Regions from separate parts of the Homo sapiens genome. Here regions 2, 3, 4 and 5 are each linked to region 1. The links are contacts of gene promoters, found by promoter capture Hi-C in human tissues and cell types (Jung and others, 2019). All regions are on one chromosome and are shown on one strand. The core of a region is centred on a gene start or on the middle of the fragment in contact, and the rest is flanking DNA. Distances in the headings are between cores, read along the strand shown.

Region 1 (4,589 bases), core at 1,210-3,709:
CTGCTGTTAAATATTTACCACATCCCACTGGCTGTTCAGAAAAGTTTAACAACCATGTAAATACATGTGTCCTGGATTAGGAACTGGCAAACTTTTTCTGTAAAGACACAAACAGTAAATGCTTTAAGTTTTGTTGGCCAAAAAGTTTCTGTTAAAAAAAAAAATTAGCTCTAATGTCACAGCTCAAAAGTAGCCAGAGACAATATATAAATGAGTAAGCATTGGCTGTTTTCAAATAAAACTTTATTTACAGACACTGAAATGTAAATTTCACACCATTTTCACATCAATAGATATTCTTCTTTTGGTATTTTTTTTCCCAACCAGCTAAAAATGTAAAAAAATCGGCAGGCGCGGTGGCTCATGCCTGTAATCCCAGCACTTTGGGAAGCCAAGGTGGGCAGAGCACCTGAGGTCAGAAGTTCGAGAGCAGCCTGGCCAACATGGTGAAACCCTGTCTCCACAAAAAAACACAAAAACTAGCTGGGTATAGTAGTACACAGCTGTAATGCCAGCTACTCAGAAGGCTGAGGCAGGAGAATCACTTCAACCCGGGAGGCGGAGGTTGTAGTGAGTCGAAATTGTACCACTGCACTCCAGCGTGGGCAACAGAGTTAGATTCCAAAATAAATAAAAGAAAGGGAAGGGAAGGAAAGGGAGGGAGGGAACAAGGGGAGGGAGGGAGGAACCATTTTTAGCTCATAGACTATATCTGGCCCACAGATTGTAGTACTCCTCGCTCTCTTTTAGATCATACTCAAAAAGGTGCAGAGCTGGGACTCCAACCTAGGTAAGACCTGAAACACAAGGTCCCAGGCAGAGAGACGACCAAGTGCAAAGACCCTTAGGTTGGAATGAGCTTGTGCTCCAAGGATGGAAAGACCCACGCGGCTGAACAGCAATGAGCAAGGGGGAACAAAGCAGGGCATGGGAGCCAAGTTCAGGGGACTTCATAAACCTGAATACAAGGTTTAGGATATTCCAAGTTCAGCTGAGAGCCCTCTGGAAGCACTGAGTGGCCTTGATATTTCCATTTTCAGTCTATGTGTATATATATATATATACACACACACACATATATATGCACACGTGTATGTATATATCTGTGTGTATATATATAGATAAAAACAAAGTATATATGTGTATATATATGGGGGAGGTTCTTGCTGTGTCCCTAGGATGGTGGCAGTGGCACTGTCACAGCTCACTGCAGCCTCAACCTCCTGGGCTCAAGTGATCCTCCTGCCTCAGCCTCCCAAGTAGCTGGGACCACAGGCTTGCACCACCACATCCGGGTAATTTTTGTGTTTTTGTAGAGATGGGGTCTTGCTCTGTTGCCTAGGCTGGTTTTGAACTGAGCTCAAGCGATCCTCCCACCTTGGCCTCCCGCAGTGCTGGGATTCCAGGGGTGAGCTACCGCGTCTGGCTGATTATATTTTTCAAAGACTCCTCAGCCTGCGGCCATGTGCAGAACCAAGCCTGGGGCTTCAAAAGAATGCAGCAAAGGATAGCAGAGAGGCCGCTGTCCAAGTCTTCCATGAGATAGATACGGACGATGTGGCCTAGGGTGGTGACAGCCTGGGGGTGACAATGGGTGGCTCTGGGCTGTATTTTGGAGGCAAGGCCAAGTCCGAAGGATTTGCTGAGAGATTCATAGCAGGTGAGTAGAGAACAACTCCAGGGTGTCCAGGACCCTCCCATGAGCCTTGTGAGTGAGGCTGATGGTCCCATTTTACAGATGGGTAACCTGGAGGCGCGCGGTTCCCCTCCCATGAGCTTGTGAAGTTGATTCTCGTAGCTCCGAGGGGTCGAGTCCCTCGCGCCGGCTCCCCCCGCCCCCAACGCCAGCACCTGGGTCCCAGGGCTGCGCCCCCTCCTAGAGCCTGACCACGACCCCCGCCCCCGCCGATGAGCTCTGATTTACCCCCCAATCCCAAGCACCCCGCGCCCTCTCGCCACTTCCCCCGTGGTTTCAGGAAAGCGTTTGCCGAAGGTACCGGCTCCTAAGGCGGGTAAACTGAGGTAGGAGGCAACGCGTCTCCCGCCCGCGCGTGTGGGAAGCCCCCGCAGGCCCGGCGATTTACCTGGAGGAAGGCCTCGGCTGCGGCGCCCTGAACTGCTCACTGTCCCACCGCGGGGGAACCCCGGAAAACGAGTGGGAAAACGAGTGCTTCAAGACCCGCCTCGGGCCGCGCGGTGCCGCCTCACTAAACCTTAGTCGCTGCCACTGCGCATGCGCCCTTCCCGGCCCTTTCCCCGCCCTCTCAGTCGGCGGGAAAAGGAGGCGGGAGATGGCTCGTGCGCAGGTGCGTGCTAGGAGCGCGGCTCGTCAGGGCAGGCTGCTCTGCAGGGCAGGCGATCCGGGGCTCGCCTCCGCGCGGCATTCAGCGCGCAGGCGCGAGCTGGCCGCCTCACACGGAGTCGGCTTGTTAAGTGCGCACGCGCGGGAGTTTCTGGCAGAAAGCAGGCGAGCCTGGGCCGGCGCGGGGCCTTGTGGGAGGGCTTAAGGAAGTAAAATGGCGGACCTGGCGAACGAAGGTAGGGGAGGCGCCGTTGGGGACCGGCTGGCGGCCGGGGAACGGGCGGCGGGAGGACTAGGGGCCACAAGCCCTTGGGGGGAGCACCGCAGAGTGCAAGGGTTTCGTCCGCTCCAGGCTAGCGCCGTGGCGGGCCTTGCAGCCGCCCCCTATTGCGTCCCCTCAGGCCGGGCTCACCGGCCCGGCCCATCACTCCCGGCAACCCCAGCCACTGCAGCCGTCTGGCTAGAGGAGCCGGGTGGCCATCGGGATCGCAGCCCTAAGGCCCCTCTGCGTCGCAGCCAAGCTCGGGGCTGAAGGGGGCGGGAGGCGCGGCCCCAGTGCTTCGGCCACGGATGTAAATAGACCTTAGGGCCTGGTTGTGGCCCGGAGCGCGCCACGCTCCCTCCCCGCCCCCTCGTCCTCCGCCACCCGGCATCTCCCCTTCCCCGGCCTGGCTGCCTATCTCCTAAGCCCGTGAGGCCCTCGTCCTCCGCGGGCCAGCCGCACACCGCGGACGGAGGAAGCCCAGGCCGTTTTCACCCCGTCCCCGCCCCGAACTTCGGCCCCCACTTCCCGCCAGTTCCCCCCGGATCCTTCGGGGCGCTTCGTCTCCCCCTCATTTAGGCCCCGCCGCAGGATCTGGGCCGCCGAAAACCCTGGCTGCTCTTTGGCCCTTTTTGCTGCACTTCCAGACAAGAGACCGTGCGAGTCCCTCCTCTGTGGAGCGCTGACAGCCCACCTGAGTGTTTTTGACAAGGTTACACTTCCAGATCCCCCGAGAAGGCACCATAAGGCTGATGTCTGCTTCCATCCATAGTCGTGTTGCCATCGCTGTAGCTTCAAGACTTCTGAGGCCTATTTTTAGCTCCCCCCCTTTTCTAGTTGCACAAATGCAGGCAAGCTCTCTACCTGTCTGGCTCTGATTCCCCCATTCGGTGCTCCCTGTGACTGGAGGGTTTTCCCTACCGAATTGCAGTAATGAATGAATGATGATAGGAAGTGCTTGGTCTTGTGGAGCATTTAGGGTAGTTACCAGGTGTGGTGCAAAGTCTTGACATACTGTTTTCCCTGGTAGGAGGTATAGATACTGTTAGCCCCATTCACTTGATGAGGAGACTGAGTCAACGTGGTTAAGTCGCTTATCCAAGGCGTGTCACACAGCTGGGAAGGAGCAGGGATGTGAACCAAGATGGCCTGGCTTCAGATGCCAGACCACGGGTGCTCAGTCCCTGCAGATTCTGATTCTGTGTGGTGTTGGGCGGGCGCTGGGCATCTGTACAGGCAGCAGCACAGGTTCTCTCCCTGATTCTTGGCCATTTTATTCTATTTTATTTTTTGGGACGGAGTCTAGCTCTGTAGCCAGGCTGGAGTGCAGTGGCGCCATCTCGGCTCACTGCAATCTCCGCCTCCCGGGTTCAGGTGATTCTCCTGCCTCAGCCTCCCGAGTAGCTGGGATTACAGGCGCGCACCACCACACCCAGCTAATTTTTGTGTTTTTAGTACAGACGGGGTTTCACCATGTTGGCCAGGATGGTCTCCATCTCCTGACCTCGTGATCTGCCCGCCTCGGCCTCCCAAAGTGCTGGGATTACAGGCGTGAGCCACCGCACCCGGCTGCTACATCTCTTTTTTTAAGATAAAGGAGCCCATGGAGGGTTGCAGCATTCCAACTCATGAGATCTAGTTACAGAGGGACTGGGTAAGTGGGAATCAGTATGACATATTTTATGTATTTACATCCTGAGCCCACATAGCTTCTTGAACTCAGGACTCATGTCCAGCATCACATTTCGACATCTCCATTTGGATGTGTCATAGGTAAGTCTAGAGCGTTTCCAAAACAAAATCCTTATCTCCCCCACTACACCTGCCCATCCCATGGTCTTTCACCCATTGTAGTTAGTTAGGCAGGTCCATTCTTTGAATTCTTCTGGCCCCAAACCTTGAAGTCACCCCTGGTTTCCCTCTTTCTCATACTGCACAGCAAATACTATCATTTCTACCTTAAAATTATTCCCAAAGGGGGACCACCACTTCTCCCCACCAACACCGTCAATGCTTAGCCCCCGT
Region 2 (4,327 bases), core at 1,035-3,534, 260 kb after region 1:
AAGGGTGTTGGCCGGGCGCGGTGGCACACGCCTGTAAGCCCAGCACGTTGGGAGGCCGAGGCAAGTGAATCACGAGGTCAGGAGTTCGAGACCAACCTGGGCAACATGGTGGAACCCTGTCTCTACTAAAAACACAAAAAATTAGCTGCACGTGGTGGCAGGCGCCCATAATCCCAACTACTCTGGAGGCTGAGGCAGGAGAATTGCTTGAACTTGGGAGGCGGAGGTTGCAGTGAGCCGAGACCGTGACATTGTACTCCAGCCTGGGCGACGAGAACAAGACTCCATCTCAAAAAAATAAAATAAGGGTATGGCTGGGCATGGGTGGCTCATGCCTGTAATCCCAACACTTTGGGAGGCTGAGGCAGGAGGATCACTGGAGCCTAGGAGTTCAAGACCAGCCTGGGCAAAACAGTGAGACCCCATCTCTTTTTTTTTTTTTTTCCTTTGAGACAGAGTCTCCCTTTGTCACCCAGGCTGGAGTGCGATCTCAGCTCACTGCAACCTCCACCTCCTGAATTCAAGCGATTTTTCTGCCTCAGCCTCCCAAGTAGCTGGGATTACAGGCACCTGCCACCAAGCCTGGCTAATTTTTGTATTTTTAGTAGAGACGAGGTTTCATCATGTTGGCCAGGCTGGTCTGGAACTCTTGACCTCAAGTGAGTGATCTGCCCACCTCTACCTCTCAAAGTGTTGGGATTACAGGCGTGAGCCACTGCACCCAGCCAGTGAGACCCCATCTGTACAAAAAATAATAATAAATAAAATAAAATAAGGTTAAGGAATCATTATGAATCTTCCTGTAAACATCAAATGAGGCCATACACCCTAAGAATACAGCTCACAGGTCCCTACTGAATGTGACAGTTTAGTCCAGATGGGAGTTCCCTGAGGGCAGGAACGGAGTTTCAGCAACTGGTCCCCATGGCAGGTTGGAGTATGCACTAACCTAACATTTACTGAAATTTCAAAATGTGCTGGGTAAGGCTGGGCGCGGTGGCTCACGCCTGCAATCCCAGCACTTTGGGAGGCGGGGGTTGCAGTGAGCAGAGATCGCGCCACTGCACTCCACCCTGGGAAACAGAGCAAAAACTCCGGCTCCAAAAAGAAAAAGAAGTGGGAGGGCTAGGCCCGGCGTGGTGGCTCACGCCTGTAATCCCAGCACTTTGGGAGGCCGAGGCAGGCGGGTCACGAGGTCAGGAGATCGGGACCATCCTGGCTAATACGGTGAAACCCCCGTCTTTACTAAAAATACAAAAAAAAATTAGCCGGGCGTGGTGGCAGGCGCCTGTAGTCCCAGCTACTCAGGAGGCTGAGGCAGGAGAATGGCGTGAATCCGGGAGGCGGAGCTTGCAGTGAGCCGAGATCGCGCCACTGCACTGCAGCCTGGGCGACAGAGCGAGACTCCGTCTCAAAAAAAAAAAAAAAAAGAGGTAGGAGAGCTTAATATCGGGCTGGGAGGATGGGGTGGAGTAGGGTGAGCGAGGCGTCAAGTTCGATTCCTAAAAAGAGTAAAAGGGGAGCCTCAGTGAGGTTGGGGAGCAGGCCTCGGCTCCAAGATGAACCAGCACCCTCCCGACCCCCGGCAGCACCCCAGCCCCAGGAGTCCTGGCAGCCCCACCGACAGAGCTGAGCTGTGACCAGCGGTCGGAGCCACATGGTCACAGCCGCCACCAGCATCAACATCAGCATCGACTTGGGCTTCCGCCGCCACCACTGCCCCTCAACCGCCACGGGGAGTCGCTGCACAATCCGAGTACGTGCAGGCTGAAGCCCTGCGCATGCGCATCAATGAGTCCCGGGAGCGGGCCTCCGCGCACTGCAGCCCGGCGCTCCGCCTGAATCTTGAGCATGCGCAGACGAATCCCGGGAAGCCCGAATCCGCGCACCCCAAAGTGCGCTCAGAGCCTGAGTATGCGCACCCGGCCACCCGTGGCCAGTCTAGAGTCTGAGCATGCGCATGTTGTCCGCGCGCCTAAGCATGTGCACAGGCTGCTCATGAGTTCCTAAACGTTGCGTTTGCAACACTACCAGTGTTTTGTACGGGCGCTGGCGCCTGCTCACAGCCTTCCACGTGACCGGAAAAGGCCTTCAGCGCATAAAGTGGGAGACCGGAAGAGGCGGAGACGATCCGATGCTCGAACTCCGCCCCCTCTTCTCCGCGTAGGCCCAGCTCCCTGAAGCGGCTGTTTCGAGCCACGCGCCCATCGGGTACCGAGGCACGCGCCGGGCGTCACGTGCGTTTCGCGGCGAGCGGAAATGACGCGAGTTGTGTGAGCCGCCAGTATGGCCGGGCTATGGCGGCGAGCACTGGCTACGTGCGACTGTGGGGAGCGGCGCGGTGCTGGGTGCTGCGGCGGCCGATGCTGGCCGCCGCCGGGGGGCGGGTTCCCACTGCAGCAGGAGCGTGGTTGCTCCGAGGCCAGCGGACCTGCGACGCCTCTCCTCCTTGGGCACTGTGGGGCCGAGGCCCGGCAATTGGGGGCCAATGGCGGGGGTTTTGGGAAGCGAGCAGCCGCGGCGGAGGCGCATTCTCGGGGGGCGAGGACGCCTCCGAGGGCGGCGCGGAGGAAGGAGCCGGCGGCGCGGGGGGCAGCGCGGGCGCCGGGGAAGGCCCGGTCATAACGGCGCTCACGCCCATGACGATCCCCGATGTGTTTCCGCACCTGCCGCTCATCGCCATCACCCGCAACCCGGTGTTCCCGCGCTTTATCAAGATTATCGAGGTAATGGGAGTCCCCGCCTCGGCCTCAGGTTTCCCACCTGTGCAAGCAGCGGGCTGAACCGTGGGATCACTTGAGCGCCCTTGTGTTTCGCAACTTTTTCAGACATGAAGTTTCTCGAAGGGTGCAGTTCGAATCCTTGTCTGCTCACCACTAGCTTGGGAACCTTGAGCCAAAGTCCTCTCCCTTTCGGATTTCTTAGGATCCGTTAGATGAGAGGAGTTGAACCCGATGAGCCTAGGATTATCCACTTTAGAACGCCGGTCATAGAAATCCGGGGCCGGGAGGGACCTGAGTAGTGTTACGGCGCTGTTAGTTTTCTCCTTACTTGGCACGAGTTTTGTAATACCTCCTCGCCCCAGGCGCTCTGCCGTCTGGTTACGAGCCTCACTGGGATCAGAATTCATTCCTTTCTTAGACAAATACTTCTTGATTGCTTATTATTTGCCAGAGAGTGTTCTAGGTTCTGGGGATATGGCAGTGAACAAAACAGACAAAAATTTCTGCCTTTGAAGCTGGGCATGGTGGCGCGCGCTGTACTCCCAGCTACTCTGGCGGCTGAGGTGGAAGGATTGTTGGAAACCTGGAGTCCAGCCTGGTCAACATGGCGAGACCCTGTCTCTTAAAAAATAAATCTGCCTTGGAGCTTACATTTTGGCAGGATGAGACAGGCAATAAAGATGTTTAGTAACGATATTGTATTAGAAGGCAATAATTACGAGAAATAGTAGAGCATGGATGGGACAGGAGGCTTAGGAGGGTGGGAAGAGGTGGGTTATTCAGTGTGTTCTTGACCTCCTACCACGTAGCAAGTTCTGAGAATACTGTAGAGAACAAGTCATTCCGGTGGTAGAAATTAGATCATTTCAGACTAAGAGCCTTGGGGGTGGGGAGGGAGCAGGATGATGTAATAGAGAGAAAGCAGTGAGTGTAAGGAACTTGAGCTTTTACAGTAGGAAGGCCCCAAAAGCCTTCTCCCCCAGCTCCCCTTCCCTTAAAAAAAAAAACTACTGATGTGGAAAGTGGCATCTATGGGAAGGTTATCTCCTAACTGGCAGAGCAAGGTCACGCAGTGAGTCAGCCTCTGCGCTCACTCTCCAGACTCTTCTAAACAAATCTCAAGGATCTGTTGGGAAGGGAAAGGCCATTTCAGAGGGGCAGCAGCCAGTAGAGAGGGGACAGAGGGAGCTTCTCCAACGCTGCTCCAAGATTTTTTTTTTTTTTTTTTTGAGACCAAGTTGCACTCTGTCATCTAGGCTAAAGTGCAGTGGCGCGATTTCAGCTCACTGCAACCTCTGCCTCCCGGGTTCAAGTGATTCTCCTGCCTCAGCCCCCTGAGTAGCTGGGATTACAGGCGCCCGCCACCGTGGCTGGCTAATTTTTCTATTTTTAGAAGAGACAGGGTTTCACCATGTTGCCCACGCTCGTCTCGAACTCCTGACCTCAAGTGATTCACCCGCCTCAGCCTCCCAAAGTGCTGGGATTGCAGGTGCGAGTCACTGCGCCCGGCCCCAAGGCCTTTCCTTGATGTTGAGTACTGGTTACTGATGCAGGCCCCCAGAGCAAGACCTTGTGGGGTCCTATCCTAGCTCCATAACCTTCAG
Region 3 (4,458 bases), core at 661-3,160, 310 kb before region 1:
AGTTGAGGGGATTGATTCCCCTGCTGGAGGTACCTCTGGGGTATGCTTCCCTATTTCTCTGGGATTACCCCTTGCAGCTTCTCCTGAGAAGGCCATTAGGACAGCTGAATCAATCCTACAATGTTGGCAAAGGTCCAGATTACCCTGCAAGGCAAAGAAGGCCTGCATGTATGGGACCTTGGACCATTTATTTGCCCTTGTGTTTACAGAAAAGCTTCCTTCCTGAGGCCATGCTTCTGTTCTGTGCCTCAAGGTGCCTTGCACCAAGATGGCAACCAAGGAAATGACAATAACATTTTTCCCACAAAATTATGTACAGATACCAAGGCACACTTTGCTCATCTGTGCTACTCTTAACCTTCCATTTTATACTTTTGATGACTAAGCCAAATGCTCATTCTATCCAGTAATTTCTCTGTTTTGCAGCAACATTCTTAACATTTAACATTGTAGGCTGGATGCGGTGGCTCATACCTGTAATCCCAGCCCTTTGGGAGGGCGAGGCAGGTGGATGACCTGAGGTCAGGTGTTCAAGACAAGCCTGCCCAACATGGTGAAACCCCATCTCTATTAAAATACAAAAATTAGCCAGGCATGGTGGTGCATGCCTGAAATCCCAACTACTTTGGAGGCAGATGTTGCAGTGAGATAAGATCACACCACTGCACTCCAGCCTGGGCGACAGAGCAAGGCTCTGTCTCAAACACACACACACACACACACACACACACACGCGTGCGCACAGAAATTTAATGTTGTATATAAAGAAGAGATAGGAGCTGGGTGCAGTGGCTCATGCCTGTAATCTCAACACTTTGGGAGGTCAAGGTGGGTGGATCACCTAAGGTCAGGAGTCAAGATCATGCCATGCCACTGCACTCCAGCCTGGGCGACAGAGCAAGACTCCATCTCAAAAAAAAAAAAAAAAAAGAAGAGATAAGAACCTTGACAACCATGAAAGAAAGAAAGATAGGAGACTGGAGGTCCTAGTGCCAACAACACCCTAATGGGCGCTTAGGGACTTGAGTTTCAGGAGTTAGTCCAGGGGCCTTTGGATAACACTGAGGCATAGCCTCAGCCAGATACCCTCAGTTGCCCCAGGACCTCCTTCTGGTCCCATGTAACAGGTAGACCTCATGGAAGGAAACGGGATTGAAACAAACCCAACATTCTCAACACTTGAGGATGATGAGGGATTGACAGTGTCCTCCCCAGCAAGGCTATCATCCATGTTTTAAGTCCAGCATCTCTGCTAGTTAATTTTAACTGGCTAATAGAGGCCTGGTGTTTTTCTTTCATTTTAGCTATTGTTGAGTTTAGGGACTCCTAAAAAGGGACAGAAAGAGCAGATCTGCTTTTACTCACCCTTTCACTCACCCTTCTGCAGATCCTGGACGAGCCCTCAAAAATGTTGCAGGATCCTTGGGGTGTTGATTTCTGGTTGGAAACCTCTGTGGCTGGTGGCACCTTTGCCTGAGTTTTGCTCGGGCCCACTGGGCTCATTCCACCCACACGGCCTGGCAGGCTGTGCTCAGCTCACACTACTAGCCTGGATCTCACACTTGCCAAGGGCAAGCCAGGCATGGAGGGGCGAGGGGTGTGTGAGCAAGCAAGCAAGCATGAGGTCCGGCCACTGCATGCAGCCAGGCACACCAGCTGCTGCAGCAGAGCAGACAGCTCCAGGTGCTGGCAGGGGCCCTGGCTCTCTGAGAGGCTGCGGCCAGACCAGGTGCACCATAAGCAGCTTCCACAGCTGCCACCAGGGAATGCAGTGGCACTCAGAAGCTTGGAGACTATAGGAAACACTGGGGTCCAAAGAGGGAGTCACAGCCCTGGCTCAGGGAGCTCCTAGGTCCCTGAAGGGCCACAGCTCTTCTCTCCTTCTCTTCACCCACAACATGGCAAGGCGCATGTTTCAGCCCTGTGGGTTTTATAGCTCTTTCAGCCCTGCTGTTTAGCAGTTCCTGAATTCTTGTCCTGTGCCCAAGAAGAATGAGGTATGTGGACAAGTGGAGGGTGAGCAAGGTGAACAGGAGCTTTATTGAGCGACAGAGTAGCTCAGAGGAGGCCTTGGATTGGGTAGCTCCTCTCTGCAGGCAGTCCATCCTGTCATTTTCTGTGGCTCTCAGTGAAGAGGAGGCCCTGGAGTGGGTAGCTTCTCTCTGCGGGCAGGTTGTCCCATTGCTTGCCCAGCTTTCAGCAGAGGGGAGGCCCTGGAGTGGGTAGCTCCTCTCTGCAAGCAGGTTGTGCCATCATTCCCTGCAGCTCTCAGCAGAAGGAGGCCCTGGGGTGAGTTGCTTCTCTCTGCAGGCAGGTCATCCCATGTTCATCCCAGCTCTTAGCAAAGAAGAGGCCTTAGAGTGAGTTGCTCCTCTCTGCAGCTGGTAGTCCCGACGTCTCTGCAGCTCTCAGCAGAGAGGAGGCCCTGGAGTTGGTAGCTGCTCTCTGAAGCTGGTCATCCCGATATCTGCCCAGCTTTGGCTGAGCCCAGGGCTTTTATGGGCCTCAGAGGGGAAAAAATGCATGCTGATTGGTCCATGAGCAGGCCTGGAAAAGGCATCACATGTTTCCACTCCAGTCCATGGGGCTGGTAGCCCAGCCCCTAGCCTTCAGGCCCTCCCTGGCCTGAAGGTGGGGCCTCACCAGGGACCCATCCCCTTCCATCCAGGAACCTGTCTACCTCCTGCTGCTGTTGATGGTGCCCAGGCTATAGGTGCCAAGGGGCGCATGCAGGTCAGCACTGAGCTGCCCTCAGCCCCCCCTTTGGCTTCCCTCCTATGCTCGTTGGTGCCCGAAGTCCAGATGGGGCTGAGGTAGCAGGGGGCTGGTGTGTCTGTGCTGCCCCAAGTTTGTGCACACCCTGCCTGGCTGCAACAGCTCTGGGGCTCAGCCCCAACTTTGCTTTGAGATGGAGTGGGCACCAACAGCAGGGAGAAGCCAAGCAGTGGAAGCAGACATTTCTGAGCCTGCAAGGGCAGGGGGAACCTTCCCGGGCCCCTAGGAGTGCAGGGACTCCTAATCTGCAGCTGCAGTTTGGACAGCTGCAGCTGCACCTGGGAGGGTGGGGCTCCTGCCTGCCTCTGGGCCTGAGAGCCCAGTAATGCCCAGGTCTGTAGCCATGGCTTTAGTGGCTGCAGCACCACCCAGGGAGCTCCCACCCCAATGCAGAAGGGGCGGGGCTCCCACTTGTCACCAGCTTCTGCCAGATCTATGGAACATGCAGTCCTGGCCATTCCTCTGTGCTGCAGCTAGTAAGATGGTGGTGGCCAGTCCAGATGGCCAGCCACTGCCATCAGTGCAATCATAGCCCACTGCAGCCTCAAACTCCTGCGCTCAAGCAATCCTCCTGTCTCAGCCTTCTAAGTAGCTGGGACTACAGGTGCACACCACTACACCCTATTTTCTTCCTTTCTAAGGTTGAATAAGCTTCTATTGCATGGATAAACCATGTTTAGTTTATCCGCTCATGTGTCAGTAGACATTCAGTTCCTTCCTCATTATTCTTTTTTTTTCTTTTTTTTTTGAGACAGAGTCTCACTCTGTCGCCCAGGCTGAAGTGCAGTGGTGCAATCTTGGCTCACTGCAAGCTCTGCCTCCCGGGTTCATGCCATTCCCCGGCCTCAGCCTCCTGAGTAGCTGGGACTACAGGCGCCCGCCACCACACCCGGCTAATTGTTTTTTTTTTGTTTGTTTGTTTGTTTGTTTTGTATTTTTAGTAGAGACGGGGTTTCACTGTGTTAGCCCGGATGGTCTCAATCTCCTAACCTCGTGATCCGCCCTCTTCAGCCTCCCAAAGGGCTGGGATTACAGGCGTGAGCCACCACACCCGGCCCTTCCCCATTATTCTTTTCGATGTTCAAAGTATTCCACCTCAGCCAGTGGGAGCCCAGGGGATGCAGTTTTGAAAATTCCCAACAATTTAGAACCTAAGTGAACAGTAATTTCCCAACTGAATAAGGGGGAGGGGATTGAGTTCCAGAAGCTCATATTTGTAGCAAGTGTAGACTAAAGGTTCTTTCCTGCAAGCTTTCTTCAAAGACAGATGCTGGCCAGGCATGGTAACTCATGCCTGTAATCTCAGCACTTTGGGAGGCTGAGGCAGGTGGATCACTTGAGCCCAGGAATTCAAGACCAGACTCAGAAACATAACAAGACTCTGTCTCCACAAAAAAAAGAAAATACAAAAATTAGCTGAGCATGGTGGTATGAGCCTTTATTCTTGGCTACTTGGGAGACTGAGGCAGGAGGAACACTTGAGCCTGGGAGGTGGAGGTTGCAGTGAATTGAGACTGCCACTGGACTCCAGCCTGGACAACAGAGCAAAACTCTGTCTCAAAAAAAAAAAAAAGAAAAAAAAAAAAAAGATAGATGGCTACCCCTGACTCCCATTTTGTCCCTTTACCTGGGACAGTGATTCTGAAAGTTAGGTGAGCCTTGGAACCATCTGTAGGGTTGGTT
Region 4 (4,496 bases), core at 188-2,687, 450 kb before region 1:
GGCTCTGGGTCAGAAGATTCCTGAAGCTGGGGTTGGTGGTGGGTGGAGGGGGGCAGTGCTGGGTCAGAAAACTCCTGGGACTCCCTCCCCAGGGTGCAGCCTGAGACAAGAAACGTGGACTCCAGTCTGGCCCCTTGTGGGTCGTCCTGGCTCCAGGGCGAAATGGTGAACATGTCACACAACAAGGAATAAAGAGATGGTTTTTGCTGAACGTGTCTGGATACTTGGGCCTAGGAGTGGAACTGGGTGCATGAGATCCCTGGACCCAGTAGGGGAGCTGGGGACCTTGGGCCTCTGGGTCCTGAATGGGAATTTGTGTCCAGGAGAGGAAGTGAGGACCTAGGATAGGAGCTTGAGGCTTGGATCCCAGGGCCTTAGGCGAAGGGAGTGAGGGGTGTGAAGTGAGGGGTGTGATCGAGGCTGTGATCCCTCGATCCCGGTTGTTGGAACGGTTCTGGACTCGTGAGTGGGGCTGGTTCCTTGAGTCCTGCAAGAGAACTGGACGCTCTAGATGGGGGGTCGAGAGAGAAGAAGGCCCGGGGGATCCCGAGTTTCCTGCTTTCCGGCCTCCCCACCTCCGGAAGCGCTCGATCTCTAAGGCTTCAAGCGGGCCACGTGCCGGGCCTACCCAACCAGGCTGCCGGTGAGCTAACCCAGACATCAGGCCTGAGTTCGGGCAGCCGATTGCCACCGCCCACGTCGGCTGCCATTCACTACAGTTCCCGCTAATCCCCTCGCTGTCTGGTGGCCGACTCCGCCCCAATGCAGCGGCGCTTCCACTGGCTCCCACCAAAAGTGGGCGCTTTGATTTCCTTCATTCCCATTTGTCCAGACCAGTGTCAGTCACCGAACACCCACCCATGTCGCTCAGCCATTGGCTTAGAAGTCAGGGATAGAAAAGGATTCTGGTTAACAAGGGAAGCAATTAAAGTCCAAAGCCAACCTCATCACCCAGAACTCGTCAGGAATTGGATTAATTGGCTGCCCATCTTTACAAGCACCACCTCTCACGTGCATTCATTGGCTTGTGTCCACGACTATCAAACCTAACGCCCACCCAGCCGGTCCATAGGAGTCTTCCACTAGGCCCGGCCTTACAGTCCACGTGACTCTTCAGAACCGTCAATCTAATTCTGAAGCCGCCCCGCGAATCTGGCACTCGCGTTTCATTGGGCCTCCTGCCTTCTCAGATCTCCTTCATTTGCCCGCCCAGCACGGGCAGCTCGCAGCTATTGCCTCTGAGAGCTGTCAGTCACTCTGAGCCTCCCGCCCACTGCCCCTCATTGCACTCCGATTGGCCACCTCCTACAGAGCTCGCGATTGGTGTCCGGGGTGCGGCGGCTGCCTCCCATTGGCCCGCCGGAGTCGTCCGTCACGTCGGCGGCGGGAGGGGCGACTCTCTCCCCCCTCGTCGTCCTCCCAGCGGCTGGGTTCCCAGAGTGCTCCGCGGCCGTGTGGAGCGAGGCCTTGTTCCCGCGTTGAGCCGCCGCCGCCGCCGCCGCCTCCTCAGCTTCAGCCTCCGCGCCAGGCCCGGCCCCGCCGCGCCATGTCGGACTACAGCACGGGAGGACCCCCGCCCGGGCCGCCGCCGCCCGCCGGCGGGGGCGGGGGAGCCGGAGGCGCCGGGGGAGGCCCTCCGCCGGGCCCGCCAGGCGCGGGGGACCGGGGCGGCGGCGGTCCCGGCGGCGGCGGCCCGGGCGGGGGGTCGGCCGGGGGCCCCTCTCAGCCACCCGGCGGAGGCGGCCCGGGAATCCGCAAGGACGCTTTCGCCGACGCCGTGCAGCGGGCCCGCCAGGTGAGGAGGCCGAGGGCCTGAGGGGCGCGCTCGCGCGCGCGCGCAGGCGGGGGAGGGGGCGGGGGTCACGTGCGCGCGCGCGCGCAGGGTCGCGGAGGGGGGCCGGGGCCGTCGCGGGGTCACGTGGGCGGTAGGCGGGGGCCTGGCCCTCCCGCTGCGCCTCGAGTGGGATCCCAACGGGTGACCCCCCTGCAGGGAGTAGGGGCGCACTGGGGGTCACCAGGAGCGGCGCCTGGGTGTGCAGGCGCCCCGGAGCTCGGAGACGCACTTTTGGGACCCCCCCCTTAGCCCCCCGGCCTTAGGACATGCCTGGAGGCAGGGGTCCACCTTCCCGGGCGGAGGGCCTTTACTCTCCCCTCCATATCAGGGCAAAGGGCAGTGTTTGCCCCCAACCCAGTCCCATTTCTGTCCCCTCTCTAGGAGAAAGGGACATTGTGGGGGTGGGAGGGACAGTCCTTCCTCTTCAGTCGGGAAAGTGGATGGGGACCTGTCTAGGGCTGAGCACTTGGGCGAAATGGGGAAGACGAGCATGGGGACTGGCTCTTGGATGCTTTGGTGGCTTGAAAGCGTGGTCTGTCTCTTTGGGGGAAAGAAGGGAGGGTCTCCCACCCCCGTGTATTGAGGCGTAATGACAAGGAAGTGTCACATGCTGCTAGGACTGACCTCTCCAGCTCCATTTGCAGCCTCCCCATGGCCTGGAGGGGTGGGGGTCGGTAGAATGGGAGGACTTTGCCGCCGACCGGCTCCTGGGCTGTCCCAATGCCTCCGGGGCTAGAGACTGGCTCCTCCCAAGGTGGGAGGTCCCGTTAAGTGAACGCCTGTGTTCTGGCCCTCTGTCGTCTCTCTCACCCTTGGAGTTGGGTGGGTTCTAGCGTGCATTTGGTCTTATTGCCCATGGAACCGTCTGATTCTGGGACAGCTTGAAGGGAGGAAGCTGGTGCTGTCAGTTGGTGGGGACAGGCCCCCTGTGGGCATCCCATGAGTTTTGGCTCTAGGGCAGCGTAGAAAAATGGAGACTGGTGGAAAGGGAGATTCTTAACATGGTTTGGGTTTCTAAACCCCAGACTCTGATCCTAAGTTTGCTGGGTTGAGGTTTCTTTAAAGTTGCTCTTCACGTGTCTGAGATGTAACTTGTGTCCCATAGAGTCTTGGTTTTTTGTTTGTTTGTTTGTTTTTTGGAAACAGTCTCAATATCACCCAGGCAGGGGTGCAGTGGCACGATCTCAGCACACCACAGCCTCCACCTCTCCAGTTGAAGTGCTCCTCCTGCCTCAGCCTCCCGAGTAGCTGGGATTATAAGTGTGCACCACCACACCCAGCTAATTTTTGTATTTTTAGTAGAGATGGAGTTTGACCATGTCAGCCAGTCTGTCTCGAACTCCTGAGTTCAAGTGATCTGCCCGCCTCGGCCTCCCAAAATGCTGGGATTACAGGCATAAGTCACAGTGCCCAGCCATCCAGAGAGTCTTCTGTTTTGGTCAAATGAGGATTTCATATCCCTTGAAGTGATCGCTTTGCTCAAATTTATTCAATAAATTGATAAAAGGATTTTGAGAGTGGGGGAGATAGGGGAAAATTGAACTCTTCAGCATCCCAGGAAAACGGGGCTAAAAAAAAACACACTTTCTGGTTTTCTGAGCTGGGGCCACTGGCAGGAGGAAGTGTCTGAAAGCTCTTGGAGATGACCTGGGAACCCTCCCTGACACCTGAGCCTCTGTTCCTTGTCACCCCTAGAACGAAGTCAGTGTGGATTATGGGCTGGCCACAATTAAGACACAAATCCCAGGAGAAGGGAAGAGGGGAATTTTGATATTCCCAGTTAACTGGTGAGAACCTTGAGGCCTAGGTTCAAAACTCCTAGGATGTCTTAACCAACTGACTCTTCCCTAAGTTGGAGGGCCAGACACCAAGACCTGATGGGCTTTCGTGTCCAGGAGATGTTCTGAGAAGTTGACCTGGGTGCCATGGAGGGTTGTTTTTGGTGGTAATTCTTCTGTGCTTACTACTTTATTCTAGATTGCAGCCAAAATTGGAGGCGATGCTGCCACGACAGTGAATAACAGCACTCCTGATTTTGGTTTTGGGGGCCAAAAGAGACAGTTGGAAGATGGAGGTAACTCCCTGCTGCTGCCTTTAGCTTAGGAGGAAGGGCTGGGGGCCTAAAGAGGTGCTTTTGTTTGAGTGTGGTTCAGAGGGGGTGGGTGTCACTGTTGTTTGGTCTTTTAAAACCTCAGCAATCCCGGCCTTGTTAATTCTTCTTGTTCCGTCTGCCATCCTGAGGTATCAGGTGGCAGAGAGGAGGGCAGATTGATTGTGACTGGGTCGAAGTTGTAAGTTCCCAAGATGATTCCTCCCTTTCTGGGAGGCTGAGGCAACCTGGAGCAGTTACTGAGGCTTGATGTGAAGTTGGCCCAGCTCTGGGGTGCGTAGTGTGACCCCAAGTAGCGGATGATCAACCCTGACCAACTCCACTGTTATCCACGACACCCTCCCTGCTAGAGGCAGGTCCTGTCCTAAACCGGGAGGACTCAGGTGCCTGGTGGTGGTTGCGTGTTCTGAAGGCTTTTTTACTCTGAGCGTTGGTGGCGGAATTGGCGGGGTCTGGCCTCCCTCAGGGGCCAGTCTCTCCTGGGCTCCTGTCTCAGCTCCTGTTAAGGGTGGGGGCCGAGGGGCACTGTTTACCTTGGACATGTGGCACCAG
Region 5 (5,033 bases), core at 759-3,258, 300 kb after region 1:
GCCTGTGATCCCAGCCAATGGAGCAGCTAGGACTACAAGTGGGTGCACCAGCACGCCCAACTAATCATCGTATTTTTTGTAGAGATGGGGTCTCCTGCTGAGGCAGGAGAATTGCTTGAACCCAGCGGGGTGGAGATTGCAGTGAGCTGAGATCGCCCCACTGCATTCCAGCCTGGGCAACAGAGTGAGACTCTGTCTAAAAAAAAAAAAAAAAAAAAAAAAAAGTCAATGGGACAAGGGGAAGGGGACTTCCAGAACCAGGAAGCTGAGACAGACCAGATGGAGCGGATCATTGAGGAGTCCCTAAATCTCCCATCTGTAGGTCCAGCCCTAGGTTCTTTGCCTCTGCTGTCTTCTGGGTGTCTCCTCCTGACAACCTCCAGGCCCCTTAGAACCAGCAGGACCCAATCCAGGCTCAGCATGTCACCCCATACCTGCTTCTCTTCCCAGCTCACCATCACAGAAATAGCCCCACTATCCCCTGTCCCTAAATGGGAGACCCAGGTATTGTCCTCACCTCCTTCTATCCTTTCACCCCCACGAGCTCATGGTTTTCAGATCTTATCAGTTCTCCCTCTCCAGTCTCTCCCCAGCTGTCCCTTCCTCTCTCTCTCCAGGACTCCCAGATTGTCACCTCCCTCCTAGACCCTACCCCGGGCCTGACCACCCCCATCTTTCCTTTGGCCTCCCTTCCATCTCCGATTTGGTCTCCCCCACCTCCACACTGGCTTCCCCATGTCCATACTCATTCTCTCCCTGCCTCTTCTGTCAATGCAGCCAAAGGCGTCTGTGTCAAAAGCAACATGGCCATGGCCCTTCCTGCTCCAAACCCTCTCAGGGGTCCCCACTGCAACTGATGGAAACCAGGCTCCTCACTGCACCCCATGAGGCCCTGCAGGTATAGCCCCTGACTACCTGTCTATCCTTCTCTCCCACGGCCCCATCTATGAATCGTTCAGTTCTCAAAATAATGAACTCCTCACCTTTCCCAGACACACCAGGCATGCCCACAGCAAGAAACGAGCTTCCACCTTTTCCCCTTCCAGGGACAGCCCATGAAGCTCCTCTGCTCATCCCTCTTTCCACCCCCAGCTCTACACTGACTGCAGCAGCCCGGCAGGGGGAAGTGGGACCAGATGGACTGACGGGTGGACGGATGGGTGGATGGATGAATGGATAGATGGACAGATGCATGTATGGATGCATAGATAGAAGGATGGATGGGTGGATGGCCAGATGAATAGATGGATGGGTGGATGGATGGATGATGGACGGAGAGATGTATGGGTGGATAGATGGATGAGTGGATGGATGTATGAATGGATAAATGGGAACACATAAATGGATGGATGGATGGATGGATGGATGGACGGACGGATGCATGGATGGATGGATGGATGGATGGATGGATGGACGGATAGATGAGTGGGTGGCCAGATAAATAGATGGATGGGTGGACAGATGGATGAGTGGAAGGATGGGGGGAGCAGATGGATGAATGGATGGGCGGACAGATGGATGAACGGAAGTGTGGATGGATAGATGGAAGGATAGATGGGTGGATGGCCAGATGGATAGACGGGTGGGGGACAGATGGATGGATGGGCAGATGAACGGTTGAAGCAGCCCGGCCGAAATGCGGGAGAAATGGGGGGAAGCCCTGCAGAACGCATCGGCCCCTTCTTGACCTCGGCGGGCCTTAGCTTCCCCTCTGAACAAAGCGGGCGTGTGACCCTCTGCGCACCCCTAAACCGTGCACTCACCCGCTCAGGCCTCAGTTTCCCCCACTGTCCAGCGGGGGTGGGGTCCCGGGCTGGGAGCCACGCGAACGCCCCCACGGTCCTCTCTTCTCGGCCGCCTCCTGCCGGGTCCCCGACCGCACCCCCTCCCGTAGGGCACGGGTCACGTGACTCGAAGCCCACCTCCTCCCGGGGAGGGGCCGGGCCTCGGGGACCCAGCGCCGGAGCGTCGCCGGGCAACAGTGCCCGCCTGGTCTTCGCCTCCCAGCAGGGGCCCGGCCCCGCCCACTGGGCGGACGCCCCGCCTCCGAATCGATCACGTGAGGGGGCCGCAGCGCTCGAACAATCCCGCCCTCTCGTTGCCGTGACAACCGCCTTGTAGGCACACTCTTCTTAAATCCGGGCCCTTGGTCCCCCGCGCGGGCGCGGGTGGATCTCTCGGGCTCTGACTTGTTTTCGGGTCACCTTCAGGCTTCAGCCAGGCACCTGACGCCTCTTTCCCCTCACGGTGCCAGGGCCGGGCCGAACTACATTTCCCAGGAGGCTCCGCGGCCAGGTGCAAACAGCGCCGTGCTGACTACATTTCCCAGACAGCCTTGCGGCGGCCCGGGCCTTAAAGCGTCCATTTCCCAGCGGCCCTCCGCTGCGAGACCGCAGCCCTTCTCTGGAGTCTCAGAGCCGCAAGACACCACGACTCCCAGAGGACCTTGCGTCGGGCAAGAAAGACTACACCTTCCAGAGGCCTCTGCGGCGCCGCGACAGGAAGCGGCGGGCGAGCCGAGTGTCCTTGCGCGTGGATCCGAGCGACCATGGTGGCCCGGGTGTGGTCGCTGATGAGGTGCGTGGGGGCGCCGGAGGGGACCCGAGTCCCCGAAAAAGTCCATTTTTGTGGGCATCCCTGTCTCCAGTCTGGTCCCGATCTGCTCTTCGCTTCCCTTAGAGTCACTTCCCCTTCGTTCCCCGCCTATGGGCCAGATAGGGAAACTGAGGCTTCAGAGGGGCGGGGCTTCCCGAGGTCGCCAATCCCCTCCCTCCTGCTTCCCAGCGAGCCCTTGGCGTTCAGTTCGCGGTGTCAGCCTCCGCCTCCGAGCCTCAGTTGTCTTCTCTGTGAGGTGGGAATGCCGGTGAATCCTGCCGCTGGCGTGGATGAGAAGTGAATGCGTGCTCGGAGCTGCGAGTGACAGCGGGCAGGAGGCGCCCAGGGACACTTGGTTTCTCCAGGGCTGGAAGGCTTCTAGAAGGTCAAGATCTTACGTCTTCACTGCCCCTGCTCACTGTGGGACTTTGAGTGACCCACTCTCCCCCTCTGGGTTTCAGTTCATCAGTTCAAGTGGCGTCCAGCCGCCCTGCCTTGCACGTTGTAAAACGAGTGCTGTATATAATAGGGGTCTGGGTCGACGGTGCTGCACTACAGAGTGTCACCCTGTGGACGGTGAGCCCTCAGGAGGGTCTCACTCTCCCCGTGGGCCTTGGCCCCTGAGGGTGGCTGTCAGTGTCCGCTGAGCTTCTGCTCCTCCCGTCCCTGCCCGCAGGTTCCTCATCAAGGGAAGTGTGGCTGGGGGCGCCGTCTACCTGGTGTACGACCAGGAGCTGCTGGGGCCCAGCGACAAGAGCCAGGCAGCCCTACAGAAGGCTGGGGAGGTGGTCCCCCCCGCCATGTACCAGTTCAGCCAGTACGTGTGTCAGCAGACAGGCCTGCAGATACCCCAGGTACTACGGGCCGGGAACGAGGCCAGGGTTTGGCGGGTGGTCAGCTCTGGGAGGTCCCTCCAGCCCTGCACGATGTTGTCCTCCATATTGATGCTGACCTGATTCTCCGGCCTGTCCTCCTCCCTCCGCCTCTGGGGATGGGCTGCTGAGCCTTTTCACCAGTTCTTTCTGCCCATCTCTTTTTCCCAGCTCCCAGCCCCTCCAAAGATTTACTTTCCCATCCGTGACTCCTGGAATGCAGGTAAGGCACCCAGTTTCTTTGCTTGGAGGGAGACACCCCAGTCTAGCCCCTCTCCCCACTTCCTGGCCATTCCTTTCTGTCCATCCTCCTTCCTGCCCGACACGTGTCTCTTAGGGATCTAAAAGGGAAAGGAGGCCGAGCACAGTGGCTCACGCCTGTAATCCCAGCACTTTGGGAGGCTGAGGTGGGCGGATCATCTGAAGTCAGGAGTTCGAGACCAGCCTGGGCAACATGGTGAAACCCCATCTCTACTAAAAATACAAAAATTAACCGTGCGTGGTGGTGCACACCTGTAATCCCAGCTGCTGCTTGAGAGGCTGAAGCAGGAGAATTGCTTGAACCCAGGAGGCAGAGGTTGCAGTGAGCCGAGGTTGCACCACTGCACTCCAGCCTGGGCGACAGGGCGAGACTCCATCTCAAAAAAATAAAATACAAAAATTAGCCTGGTATGGTGGCGCACTTGTAGTCCCAGCTACTTGGGAGGCTGAGGCAAGAGAATCGCTTGAACCCAGGAGGCGAAGGTTGCAGTGAGCCGAGATTGCACTACTGCACTCCAGCCTGGGAGACAGAGTGAGACTCCATCCCCGCCCCCCACCCACCCCCCACCGCCCAAAACAAACTCTAGAGTTTCCCAGGGGTTGGAGGCTGGGTGAGGCTGGGAGGGGAGTATCACCAGTGGCCGTCCCTTTCCCACAGGCATCATGACGGTGATGTCAGCTCTGTCGGTGGCCCCCTCCAAGGCCCGCGAGTACTCCAAGGAGGGCTGGGAGTATGTGAAGGCGCGCACCAAGTAGCGAGTCAGCAGGGGCCGCCTGCCCCGGCCAGAACGGGCAGGGCTGCCACTGACCTGAAGACTCCGGACTGGGACCCCACTCCGAGGGCAGCTCCCGGCCTTGCCGGCCCAATAAAGGACTTCAGAAGTGTTCCCTGACCCGTGTGCTGGCCCCAGGGAGCACAGGGTTGGCCTGGTGGTGCCCAGAGCACCGAGGCCTGGGCTTCTGGCTCCTGATGGCTTGTCAGGGCTTGACCTTGACCACAGGCCATAGCACTCCCCTTTGCCGTCTGCTCTGGTGCGGGGAGTCAGAGGTCAGAGCGGCTGCTCCCGGTGCTCCAGAGGCTGTGCTCTGGGGCCAGGAAAGTGCTTTGGCCAAGCCTGGGTTGTGGAGGGTCTTGGTTTTGGAGGGCTGAGACCAGGGTAGGACAGTGGAAGAGCCAGAGTGGATAGAAGTGGGGTCTGCTTCCCTGCGGGACACAGGGCAGGAGCCCCCAGGGCCACTGGTTCCTGCCCTCCTCAGCTCCTGTCCGCAGTCCTGTCCCGGCCCTTCCTTGGCCGGACTCCACCC

The links. Contacts are between HindIII fragments. The study calls those that stand out against the background at their distance.
Region 2: a contact is called between the fragment with the promoter of LONP1 here and the fragment with the promoter of RANBP3 in region 1, in 1 of the 25 tissues and cell types used here (adrenal gland).
Region 3: a contact is called between a fragment that was not itself captured here and the fragment with the promoter of RANBP3 in region 1, in 1 of the 25 tissues and cell types used here (lymphoblastoid cells).
Region 4: a contact is called between the fragment with the promoter of KHSRP here and the fragment with the promoter of RANBP3 in region 1, in 2 of the 25 tissues and cell types used here (dorsolateral prefrontal cortex and stomach).
Region 5: the fragment with the promoter of HSD11B1L here is called in contact with the fragment with the promoter of RANBP3 in region 1 in 1 of the 25 tissues and cell types used here (dorsolateral prefrontal cortex).

The regions. Positions count from the first base shown.
Region 1 is chr19:5,976,010-5,980,598 of GRCh38, reverse strand. It overlaps RANBP3 (RAN binding protein 3), which reads left to right and starts at 2,459. Exons shown (of 17, transcript NM_007322.3): 1 at 2,459-2,538. The coding sequence starts at 2,517. It overlaps RANBP3-DT (RANBP3 divergent transcript), which reads right to left and starts at 2,196. Exons shown (of 4, transcript NR_046376.1): 1 at 2,085-2,196. RefSeq lists silencers at 2,066-2,115, 2,166-2,335, 2,566-2,675. The HindIII fragment of the contact is 11,015 bases long and covers 1-4,589 here.
Region 2 is chr19:5,718,103-5,722,429 of GRCh38, reverse strand. It overlaps LONP1 (lon peptidase 1, mitochondrial), which reads left to right and starts at 2,284. Exons shown (of 18, transcript NM_004793.4): 1 at 2,284-2,726. The coding sequence starts at 2,298. It overlaps CATSPERD (catsper channel auxiliary subunit delta), which reads right to left and starts at 1,793. Exons shown (of 22, transcript NM_152784.4): 1 at 1,622-1,793. The coding sequence starts at 1,692. RefSeq lists enhancers at 2,035-2,134, 2,087-2,603, 3,637-4,152, 4,153-4,327 and silencers at 2,415-2,464, 2,595-2,674. The HindIII fragment of the contact is 49,943 bases long and covers 1-4,327 here.
Region 3 is chr19:6,284,642-6,289,099 of GRCh38, reverse strand. No RefSeq gene overlaps it. Among named protein-coding and RNA genes, the nearest start is that of MLLT1, 6.9 kb to the right of the region's middle. The HindIII fragment of the contact is 3,632 bases long and covers 95-3,726 here.
Region 4 is chr19:6,421,752-6,426,247 of GRCh38, reverse strand. KHSRP (KH-type splicing regulatory protein) reads left to right here and starts at 1,437. Exons shown (of 19, transcript NM_001366299.1): 1 at 1,437-1,795; 2 at 3,812-3,908. The coding sequence starts at 1,547. SLC25A41 (solute carrier family 25 member 41) reads left to right here. Exons shown (of 7, transcript NM_173637.4): 7 at 1-211. RefSeq lists an enhancer at 1,010-1,129. The HindIII fragment of the contact is 26,210 bases long and covers 1-4,496 here.
Region 5 is chr19:5,678,002-5,683,034 of GRCh38, reverse strand. HSD11B1L (hydroxysteroid 11-beta dehydrogenase 1 like) reads right to left here and starts at 2,008. Exons shown (of 8, transcript NM_198706.3): 1 at 1,764-2,008. MICOS13 (mitochondrial contact site and cristae organizing system subunit 13) reads left to right here and starts at 2,519. Exons shown (of 4, transcript NM_205767.3): 1 at 2,519-2,577; 2 at 3,272-3,449; 3 at 3,639-3,690; 4 at 4,387-4,613. The coding sequence starts at 2,549. The coding sequence ends at 4,484. It overlaps LOC107985320 (a long non-coding RNA gene), which reads right to left. Exons shown (of 3, transcript XR_007067107.1): 3 at 4,706-5,033. RefSeq lists a silencer at 1,831-2,040 and enhancers at 2,091-2,560, 2,571-2,670, 2,691-2,770, 2,801-2,910, 3,291-3,430. The HindIII fragment of the contact is 40,206 bases long and covers 1-5,033 here.